Linked DNA regions of Homo sapiens: region 2 is linked to region 1. The links are contacts of gene promoters, found by promoter capture Hi-C in human tissues and cell types (Jung and others, 2019). All regions are on one chromosome and are shown on one strand. Each heading gives the region's core, a stretch centred on a gene start or on the middle of the fragment in contact. The rest is flanking DNA. Distances are from core to core; before and after follow the strand shown. Region 1 holds the start of CDK5RAP3 (CDK5 regulatory subunit associated protein 3). Region 2 overlaps SKAP1 (src kinase associated phosphoprotein 1).

The links. Contacts are between HindIII fragments. The study calls those that stand out against the background at their distance.
Region 2: a contact is called between a fragment that was not itself captured here and the fragment with the promoter of CDK5RAP3 in region 1, in 2 of the 25 tissues and cell types used here (adrenal gland and lymphoblastoid cells).

The regions. Positions count from the first base shown.
Region 1 is chr17:47,968,240-47,973,679 of GRCh38, forward strand. CDK5RAP3 (CDK5 regulatory subunit associated protein 3) reads left to right here and starts at 2,874. Exons shown (of 14, transcript NM_176096.3): 1 at 2,874-2,913; 2 at 3,123-3,168; 3 at 5,280-5,411. The coding sequence starts at 2,908. RefSeq lists a silencer at 2,525-2,814 and an enhancer at 3,236-3,863. The HindIII fragment of the contact is 4,856 bases long and covers 1-3,049 here.
Region 2 is chr17:48,239,621-48,245,079 of GRCh38, forward strand. The region is part of intron 4 of SKAP1 (src kinase associated phosphoprotein 1); the gene reads right to left. Among named protein-coding and RNA genes, the nearest start is that of SKAP1-AS2, 52 kb to the right of the region's middle. The HindIII fragment of the contact is 4,655 bases long and covers 1-3,711 here.

The sequences.
Region 1 (5,440 bases), core at 1,624-4,123:
GGCCCTTAATTCAGCTCTATGAGCCATTTTCAGAGCAGTTTTTCAATCCGTTCTATAATAATAATGATCATATATGACATATATATATATTTTGAGATGGAGTCTCACTCTGTTGCCCAGGCTGGAGTGCAGTGGCGCAATCTGGGCTCATTGCAACCTCCGCCTCCCAAGTTCAGGTGATTCTTCCGCCGCAGCCTCCCGAGTAGCTGAGTAGCTGGGACTGCAGGCATGCACCACCACGCCGGGATGGTTTTTGTTTTTGTTTGTTTGTTTGTTTTTTGTTTTGTTTTGTTTTTGAGATGGAGTCTCACTCTGTCGCCCAGGCTGGAGTGCGGTGGCGCAATATCGGCTCACTGCAACCTCCGCCTCCCGGGTTCAAGCAGTTCTCCTGCCTCAGCTTCCTGAGTAGCTGGGATTACAGGCGTACGCCACCACGCCCAGCTAATTTTTGTATTTTTAGTAGAGACAGGGTTTCACCATGTTGATCAGGCTGGTCTCAAACTCCTGACCTCGTGATCCACCCGCCTCAGCATCCCAAAGTGCCGAGATTACAGGCGTGAGCCACCGTGCCCAGCGTGTTTTTTGTTTTTTTCAGAGATGGGATTTCACCATGTTGATCAGGCTGGTCTCGAATTCCTGACCTTAGGTGATCCGCCTGTCTCAGCCTCCCAAAAGTGCTGGGATTACAGGCGTGAGCCACCGCGCCTGGCCCATATATGATATTTCATATAGGGAGAGTTTACAAAGCATGAGAAATACAGCCACAGTATGTTGTAAACTGTCATGAGTTACTAGTGTGTTTATTTAAGCCTCTAAACAGAAATACCCTGAGATAGGATAGCTGTTATCTCCATGTGGGGAAACTGTGGCTATCAGATAGGTTATAGAAATGGTCCAAGACCTCACTGGGCAGAATCTAGGTCTTCCTGCTGCTGTATCACACTATGCATTTCAATCAAAAATTTACTAAGCCTCAAGTGTTGTGCTGTGGTGAACAGGAGCTGGGGAAGGAATATTTAGAAATGGCATACCCAGGGCCGGGCGCGGTGGCTCACGCCTGTAATCCCAGCACTTTAGGAGGCTGAAGCGGGAGAATCACGAGGTCAGGAAATCGAGACCATCCTGGCTAACACGGTGAGACCTCGTCTCTACTAAAAATACAAAAAAATTAGCCGGGCGTGGTGGCGGGCGCCTGTAGTCCCAGCTACTGGGGAGGCTGAGGCAGGAGAATGGCGTGAACCCAGGAGGCAGAGCTTGCAGTGAGCCGAGATCGTGTCACTGCACTCCAGCCCGGGCGACAGAGCGTGACTCCGTCTCAAAAAAAAAAAAAAAAAAAAAAAAAAAAGAAAAGGCATACCCAGCGCTGTGAGATCCTGGGGGATCTGGCCTCAGCCTACCCTCCCTCCTTACTCTACCCACTTCTTGGCCAATCTCAGACTCTCCCTTAGCTTCAGCCACCACTCGGACCACAGATTAGCCAGCTTGTGACTCTCCAAGCTGTATCTCCAGCCCCGACAACTCCCTCGAACTCCAAAATTATAGACCCAAGTGCCTTCTGCACACTTTCCATCTGGGGGTCTCCCAGCATTGCCAGACTAGGTTCAAAGCTAGACCCCCTCCTCCCCAACACCTGCTCAGCATCCTGCATCCCTGTCTCAGGTGGTGGTTCCCACCTAATCACCTAGGTGTCATCCTTAGTGTCTCTCTCCTCCACCCAAACAGCCAATCAATTGCCAAGTCCTATACATTTTCCTCCTAAATATTCCTCAGATCCAGCCCTTCCCCTTCCTCCTCATATCTTGTGTCCCAGCTCAGGCTATAATCCCTCGATAACAACCTCCTTCCAGCCTCCTTGTCCCCAGTCTTATCTCCCATGCATCCATCATCCCAGCAGCCTATCTGTACAGGTTCCTCCCTGCCTCAAACCCCTTCTGTGATTCCTCTGTCTGAAGGGATGAAGTCCAAGTTCCTTAATAAGTCTCCCTTTGATATGGCCTTTCCACCCTTACAGCCTCTCCTCTAGCCACTCGCTGCCTCAAACCATCTACGGTATAGAGGTTGGCCTGCCCGCGGAGCCGACTTCATCTTGAAATTCTTCATCATTTTGTAACAAGCAGCTGTGCATTTCCATTTTGCACTGGACCTCACAAATTACGTTGCCCGTCCTGCCTGCCTGTTGTTGCTTGCACCCCTCTTGCAGTTTGTGGCCACCTAAGCTTTGTCTGTGTAGTCTCCTCCACCTAAAACTCCTCTTCCCACATCACCCAGCTATCTTCAGCTCTTCGTTTAGACTCAATGTAGGTGTTCTCTTTGGGACGTCTCACCGACTCTCTTCCTTCCCCTTCCCTGCCCTAATCGCCCAACACGTTGCAGGTGCTCAACCATGTCTATTAGAGAAACTGAATGAGGAGGCAAAGCATGACAAGTGCCACAAGAGACCTGCACACTGCTCTGGATGGTAAAGCGACGCAAGGAGGGAAGAAGGTATTTGCAACGGCCTCCCAGATCGGCGCTAGGACCCCGCCAGCAGACGTCTCAATCTGCGTGGAGAAGACCCAGTGCCCGCCAGGGGAAGCGGCTGCCAGGCTGGGCTCTCGAGCGCCGCCTGTCGCAATCCCACGGCCGCTGCAGCGCACCCCCTCCCGTCCCCTGCCCTGAGCCCGCCTCGCGTCTCCAATTGGCTGTCTCCATTCTCCCGCCCCTCCCGAGCTCAGCCATTCGGAGCCTGGGGTGGGCGGGGCTTGAGGCCTGAGTGGAGCGTAAACCCTGATTGGCTGTACGGAAGGCGGCGACGTGGCCGAAGGATGCCCGTTTGTGTCTAAACGGAGGCTCGGCCACAACGCCACTGGATTGGTGGTAGGGCGGGGCGGGCCACAGTCTCCAGCCTGAAGCGGAAGTGGAGGAAAGATGGAGGTGTGGGGACAGGAGCTGGGTGTGCTGGGGACTGGCCGCGGACCCCTAACCTGTGTCTCCGGTCTCCCTCCGGAAGCGGCTCAACCCAGCCCATCGCTCTGGCCCCGTTCTGGCCCTGCAGGGTGGTGGTTGGGACGTTGAAATGAGCGCGCGAGTGGTACGTCCTCTCTCCGCGCTCACGCCCCCCTCCTCACCGTGTTTCCCGCCAGGACCATCAGCACGTGCCCATCGACATCCAGACCAGCAAGCTGCTCGGTAGGAGGGGGCGCCACCGCGCAGCTGGCTGTCGGGGGGAGGCCTGTGCGTTGCCCCCTGTGTCCAATAGCCGGGAGCTCTGACCCCTGAAAGCCTGAGTCGAGATGCTGACCACTGGCCTCGTTCTATGCCCCATCTGTGGCCAGACCTGCTTCCCTGATAGCAGCGGGAACGAACCATATGTACAGTCTGTTTGACCTGCGTTTTCTCCTTTAATAACATATGTTATCGTATCATTCAGGGACAGGATAAATGACTCGCTTTAAAAACAGTCAACCACTGCCGGGCGCGGTGGCTCATGCCTGTAATCCCAGCACTTTGGGAGGCCGAGGTGGGCGAATCACCTGAGGTCAGGAGTTCGAGACCAGCCTGACCAACATGGAGAAACCTTGTCTCCATGTCTCCATGACTAAAAATACAAAAAAATAAAAATAAAAAGTAGCCGGGCATGGGAGCACATGCCTGTAATCCCAGCTACTCGGGAGGCTGAGGTGGGAGAATTGCTTGAACCCCGGAGGCAGAGGTTGCGGTGAGCAGAGATCTCACTATTGCACTCCAGCCTGGGCAACGAGAGCGAAACTCCATCTCAAAAAGAAGACAAAAAACAGTCAACCACTAAGTGGCACATCTGAATTGGAACTTAAGTCTGTCTGACCCACTGTCCATGCCTTTTGCATTATGCCAGGAAAAAAAAAAAAAACCTCATTTAAAAAGCTTCCACCTCCCCCTTGATTTTAGGAGGAAGAGGGACCTAAGACCCAGTTGCAAATGAAAACCTTTTAGTGTCCAGGCCATCTCCAGGTTGTCTGTATGGGGCTTACATACTTCCTCCCCAGTTCATAGTCAGGGAAGGCCTCTTCATCTGATCACACAGCTCCTGGCATTTTAAAATGCTTATTGGATTCATGGATTTGATGCCAATCTTGTCCTTAAGATGGTGTCTGTTTGACTACCCCAGTCCGTTGCTTCTAGTTCTGTGACATCAACAGAATTTTTCTTTCTGAAAACTTTACAGGAATATAGCAGAGAGAGTATAACTGATACTAGTGTGGGACCCCAGCGTTTGACCGGTTGGCAGAGTTCAAGTTCTGAATTCACCACTCTGTAGTGCCATTTAGTCAGTCCTGCTTGGTGGTCACGGGGGAAGCTTCTTTAGCCTCCCTTCAGATTTGTACTGGCCCTTCAGCCCATGTGCAGTCTTGGTGTGTGAGCTTGTTCTTGGTCATGAAAAGGACCAATAAAATGACCACCATTCATTGAGGGTTTTTTTTTGTACCAGGTGCTGTTTTAGGCACTTGACATGATAAAAATGATCACTGTCATTTTTTGAGTCCTTGCCGTGTCTCAGGCACACTGTTCAGTGTTTTACCTGCATTCCCTTTTCTAGTCAGTGTCTTATTATTCCCCATTTTACATGTGGGAAAACTGAGGCACAGAATAGTAGACTTGCTCAAGAAACTTGATAACGAGAACCCAGGACCATCTGACCACAAAGCTCAGCTCTTAGCTCTCACTGAGGAAATATGCATGGCTCTGAAGCCACAAATCTGGGCCCAGACTTTGAGAGGTCAGTCCCATTGGTATTCACATGTACAGGGTGGTACTTCACTGTTCACAACAGAGTCATGTTATCTAGTCCTTAGGGCGCTGTAGGTATTAGGGGCTTTGCAGCTGTTCATTCATCCAGTACTTGGCATAACCATCTTGTATTTTCCATTGTCATGGTTAACCCCAGCCCTGAGGAAATGGAAGTTGAGCAGCATCCTCTTGTCAGGAAGAAAGATATAATTACCCATAGAAGCAAAAATATTATGGGGAATTGAGAATGGTCAAAAGTGGCACTTTCAGGACCAATTTAAACTTTTTGTTATCCCTGTGTTGAGGCAATTGCTCTATAAAAATCACACTGCTAATGAAGTCAGATTGTCAGAGCCTGGTTTAGCCCCAGGCATCTCTTTGGGCTTGTCTTTATTCCCATCTTCCCATGACCCCCATACTTTAACCAATGTAAAGAAAACTTTTAGACTAATTTCAGTGTATTTCACTCGAATTAGTGATGGAATTTTGGTGATGTGAATGGGAATGCTCTAATTTGGGTGCTTCTCATGTAGATTGGCTGGTGGACAGAAGGCACTGCAGCCTGAAATGGCAGAGTCTGGTGCTGACGATCCGCGAGAAGATCAATGCTGCCATCCAGGACATGCCAGAGAGCGAAGAGATCGCCCAGCTGCTGTCTGGGTCCTGTGAGTGCTTAGGGGCTGTCACTGGAGTC
Region 2 (5,459 bases), core at 134-2,633, 270 kb after region 1:
AATTATTCTTCCATTGAAAGAAAACTGAGACCATTGGTCCATACAAATAATCCCTGGCTCTGTAAAGAAAATGAGAGAAAAACAGGCAACCATGAATCCTACTCACTGGTGACATTAACACATATGACATTACACATACTCACACGTATCTCACCAAGGAAAAGCAGGCTTCTCAGACCCCCTCCACCCCCACCAACAGTAATTAGAATGAGAGAGAGAGAGAGAGAGACAGAGAGAGAGAGAGAGAGAGAGAGAGAATGAACTTGAATCATGGCCTCTAAGAAAATTAATACAAAGAAAAATAAGCTGTTGAGAACCTCTATCATCAGTAACATAACTCTATAGGTACAAAAGAAGGTAGATGTTAAAGACCAAAGGTGGATCAGCTGAAATGTTCATGGATTCAGTTAGTAAAATGTTTGTGCAGTATTTAAGGCCATAATGGGCTCTGATAAAGATTCTCAGAATCTAATAATGGCCTCTCTGGACTTCTTGTCTAATTAGTGGAATAAGGAGCGAGCCAGCTTGGAATTGAGCATTGCTAGATATGAGGGAGAAGGGAAAAAAAAAAGCCAAAGCTGCAAGAAAAATAAACCAGAGTAAAGGAGAAGAAAAACAAGAGCAGCCAGTGCTTTCAGAACTGCTCCTGAGCTGACAACTGAAGTTTATGCCTTGAAATATATGATAATAAGATTTTATGGGAGTGAGCCCCAGGGACCCAAATGTCTCTCTGTAAACAACGGACCTCAGGGAAAAGCCAAGGTTTGAGTAATGTACTCAGTCTCCACTCATGATAAAAAAATAAAAAAAAGCAAAAAAGCAGTGAAGACAGGAAATAACTCCTTTTATTCTAACTGTAGAACCCTGAGTTGCAGCAAATGCCCTCTGAGGGCAAAGACAATCGACAACCAGTATAGAAATACAGTTGTCCCATATTCAGACAAGGGATTTAAACCTCAGCAGCCTCAAAAACCTGAGGTTGTATGAGAAGAACCTAGTAAAGTGCTGCCTGTCCACCCTTCACACATGGGCAATATATGTCCAGAAACCAAATGGTTTATTGTGCAGTGTTGTTCCAGTGGAATTACTGGAGGGACATCAGAATGACCTAATCCTTGAAGCATGTGCCAGTTATCCCAGTGCTGCAAAGAGTTAAACCTGAAAGTGCTGCCTGTTCCCACTCGTTCACAATCCAGATTACCTAGAAAGATATTACCAGCTGAACTCCACACATAGTATGATGGCTTCCTTTGAAGACTTGGGTCAGGTAAAGCTCAAAGTTAGCCTTAAGCAACTACTAAACGATGAAAGTCCCTAGTGTACTCTGAGACTAAATCAGGTTGCCTTTAAAATTCTTCATCTTCAAAGACAACAGCTCTATCCTCTTTTTATAAATGTGAGGCCATGAGACAGCAAAGTGCTATTTCTACTGGCATTAGTTCCACCTTATATATTAAAAAGATATTTGTTGTGCCCTAATCACTCTGGGTCCAAGATCATAAGGGACCTTGTTTCTTGGTGGGAGGCTATAGTGTGAAAAGGTTACTTAGTCATCACTAGCCTCTAGCAATGCTGGAACACCACACATGGGGCTCCTCAAACAGGAAGTCAAAGCCAGTTCTGACCCCTGGATGAACTCTGCATTTTCGGGCAAGAGGCCTGATGAATCTCCAGGGACAGTGCTGCCCTGTGTCTCTGTGTCCATATGTATGTGTTTACTCCTCTGTGTGCATGTGTGGAGGTGGGTGGTACTGAAGGGAAGCAGGGTGTGAAGGTTCTGGATAATTATGAAAATTAGATCTTTTACAGCAGGCTTCAAGCTCAATTTGGGCTGACAGCTCATGAACAGATCATCTGAAGTCTTAATAGGCCAATGCTAGTTCAATAGTTGTATGGTTAAATCATGCACATTTGTGCCTCAGCTGACACAAAAAGCAGACCCAGATGCCTCACATGGATCATGCAGATAAGTCTATATTTAATACTCTTCCTCTCTCGGGGAAGGCCTAACAAAGCAAAACAAAACAGATCTAAAACCATGCTTAAAACTTTCACCAGCCAAAGAAACATTCCAACATTCTTTTCACTATAAAACATCTAATAGTAGAAATGATACATGATTGATAAAGTGATTCTAAATATACTTAATTCTGGTGTCTTTTCAAAATATTTCTGAACCCAGCAGTAACAGATATAATCTTCCAAACTGGGAGTTTTTTCCATTTTTAGTTACCTGTCCCAAAAGCACTTATTCTCTTACTTTCCATTCTTTGCTGGTAGTTTTGTACAATGATGTCAAGATATCAAGGCTCCTGACACATCCTGAATTCTGAAAGAATGTGCTTCCTGAATATTCCTGATAATGGGCTTAGTATCAAAGGGGTTAATGAGGTTGAGTTAAGACAGCATTTCCTGCTTGAAGGAGAACTGAGTCCAACAACACTAGAAGCATTTTCTTATTATTTTTCTCTGCGTTTGCAGTAACTGCTTCTCCTGGAAGCTTTACCTGGGGGAAGGGATAAAGCAATATCACTAACCTGCCTGGCATCTGGCTTCCAGCAGGGAAAGAGGCTCATCCACCTCACCCCTCGGGCTTCTTTAACTGAATTAGCTGTATTAAGTGCCTTGGTAGCCCAGGGAATGAACGTCGTTGATCAGTGTGCCTAGAAAGGCATGTTTTCAGGGTATAATTCTGCCGGAGGAGAATGGACTCCCCAGCACATGGGCCTAAACTGCAGAGTAACAGAGCCCTAAATCTCCAGTTACAGATTTACAGCCTCCATTCTCCTTCTTTACTGCAAATACAATCCGGCAGTAATGGTCTAACACAGCAACACCATCACCAACTGGCTGATGGCTCGCATAAAAGCAATGTCAACCAAAAACTATGAGTTTATAAAAGGGAACAAACCCTCAACAGTGACAAGAACATGAAACCCATTAACAATTTAAACACTCTCCATTTTTTATTTCCCACCTTGAAGCTATTATTGCTGATAGAAAGCTCCTCAGTGGAGTTAACCACTGCAAGGAAGGGTTAGGAAGCTAGCTTAACTCCTAAGACAAGGGGTTATGTGGTTTGAACCATTTGATGGTGTGGTTTGAACCTTTGTTAATAGGAAGGCCATTTGATAACCTGTAGTGCAAAAGAAGGTCTTAGAATACTGTAAGTGTGATAGGATCTCCCCTAGTAGGTCTATCAAATTATTCTCAGGAACCACACTGAATAAAAACGGTTAGAATTGGATTGGCTAGTCTATTGAATATGCCAAGACTTGAGCCTGTACTGTAAAAGGAATGGTAGAATATTTTTTGGAGAAAGTTCTGTAAAAATCAAGAATCAACTCTTGGCATTATAACAATAAATGCTTATATGAAGTTTTATTTCTGTGATAGCTCTAACTCTTCGAAGGAACATTGCCACCACAATATTTCCATTTTGCAAATTGACTATACCTGGACTGTGATGTAAAATGTAACTCGTCACACACTATTACCTTCCAGTCTTTAGGTAATCAGATACAAACATTATAACTAATTTCTCAACTTAACTACAGGACTCTCCCATTTAAAACAAATATTACTGTGGAATTCTCTGGTGAAAAATGCTTGAGCAAGCCATCTCCCTCCCTGCCCTTTCAAATTCCCTGACTTCCCCTAGTAAAAATAAAAATAGGACTTTAAAGAGATATAATAAGCCCATGATTGGGTATTTTACCCCCAAAACAAAACTTCTTCCCTTTGTTCTATAAATCAGACAAACCCAATGGCAATAAGAAAGTTGTTCTCTTTGTGGTTTTGAGCTTTTTGCATGTGTAATTTGTCAAACAGTTCATCTTTTGGAAATAGGATCTTCACACTAAAAAGGAACAAAATCCTGTTTTTGCAAAGGGGAAAAAAAGGCCATGTTGAACATGGTAACATATATCCATACGAATAGTGCCAAAGAACTTAAAGTCCCTGATTTACATATATTGTGCTGATTGTTTGAGCATCAATATAAAAAATTTAATCTGTACTAATGGGCCTGGAGGAAGCGCAAATAAAACCGAGGAATAAGTACTTGTTTTGCAGTACAATGAATGCTATTAATATATATATAAAACAGGCTTCAGTGATGCATAAGCTATTGTATTCTAAAAATATTCCTACATTTTTGGCACTTTAAAAATGTATTACCTCACAAAGGACTATCAACCTATCTGCAGACTCTTAACCTGGGCTAGCATTAAGAAAGGAATCATTTCATTCTGCTTTTGTTACATGTACATAGATTTTGAACTAAGCAGATATGGCACCTGTTGGTTTTAAATGTCTCCTCCTCTAAGAAAAAGAAAGAAAAAAGTTCAGGAGAAGAAAAAGAAGAGATGTTAAATAAAAGACAAGAAACAAGGAACTAAGAGAATAAAATTATTTTCCCCACAGTGTGCAATGAAATCAAGCTACACTAATTCTACTTATAATAATGTTAGAAAATGGTTAGCCTTAATGCCTGATAATGACCAGAGCTAATGTGGTTCTGCTTTCAGTGTGGATAATGTTTAAGGAAGTAGCAGAATGCATGGCAGCTTTCCTGGACTATACAGTCAACTCCAATGAAGCCTTTTCTCCAGCTTGAGTCATAACCATAAATACTGCCCCATCCCCACATTCCAGTAACAAAGTCCTTCCTTCCTCCTTTGCCCCTAAACAAAGGGGACAACAGTGTGTTCGGTGGGAACATCTTGAAATAAGATAACACTCCCCAAATGGAAGGAAGTCACAGGGGAGATTGACGCCATAAAGGCAGTTCTATCCTATTGAAACGCCAGCAGATGGGGTCATAAACATTTCCTTCTCCCCTTGCTAACAGCCACCAAGTCAGCTTCATCTTTATCTTTATCTTTATCTTCCTGTCAGGTCATAAATACCTCTCACTCAAGCTTCACTCACAGCTGGGCCATGCCAAGCAAGTTTACTTCCTGTTAAAGGTTCCTTTCAGCAAACATTAACAAATAGTTGGGGGAAAGAAAACTGAAAATTCTGCTGATGATACACAGTTATAATATTCCAAAGGAAGCTTGGAAACCTCAAAGAAAGGGTTTGGCCAGACTAAGAAATGACCAAACTGCCTAGCAAAAAGCATGGAGATCCACTTAAAAGAAGATGCGTTCACAGGGAAAATGAGTCAAATAATTAGTTAAAACTTATATTTACATCCAAACAAAATAAAAGAGCTGAATAGTGTCATGGGCTTTCATTCTTTCTTCTAGAACCTCCAAATGATGCATGGATGCTTGCCATTTGTTCCTGAGTCTAAAACCTGGACCATAATCGTAGAAAATGAAAACAGAAGATTTCTAGGAGTAGTAACTCAATACAAAGTCATGCTTAGGCCAAAGGTTAGAGAAAGAACACACCCCTTTACTTTCAGAATTTTGGCTCATGAGGAAGGAGTAACCTGACTCTCTTTCCTTCCT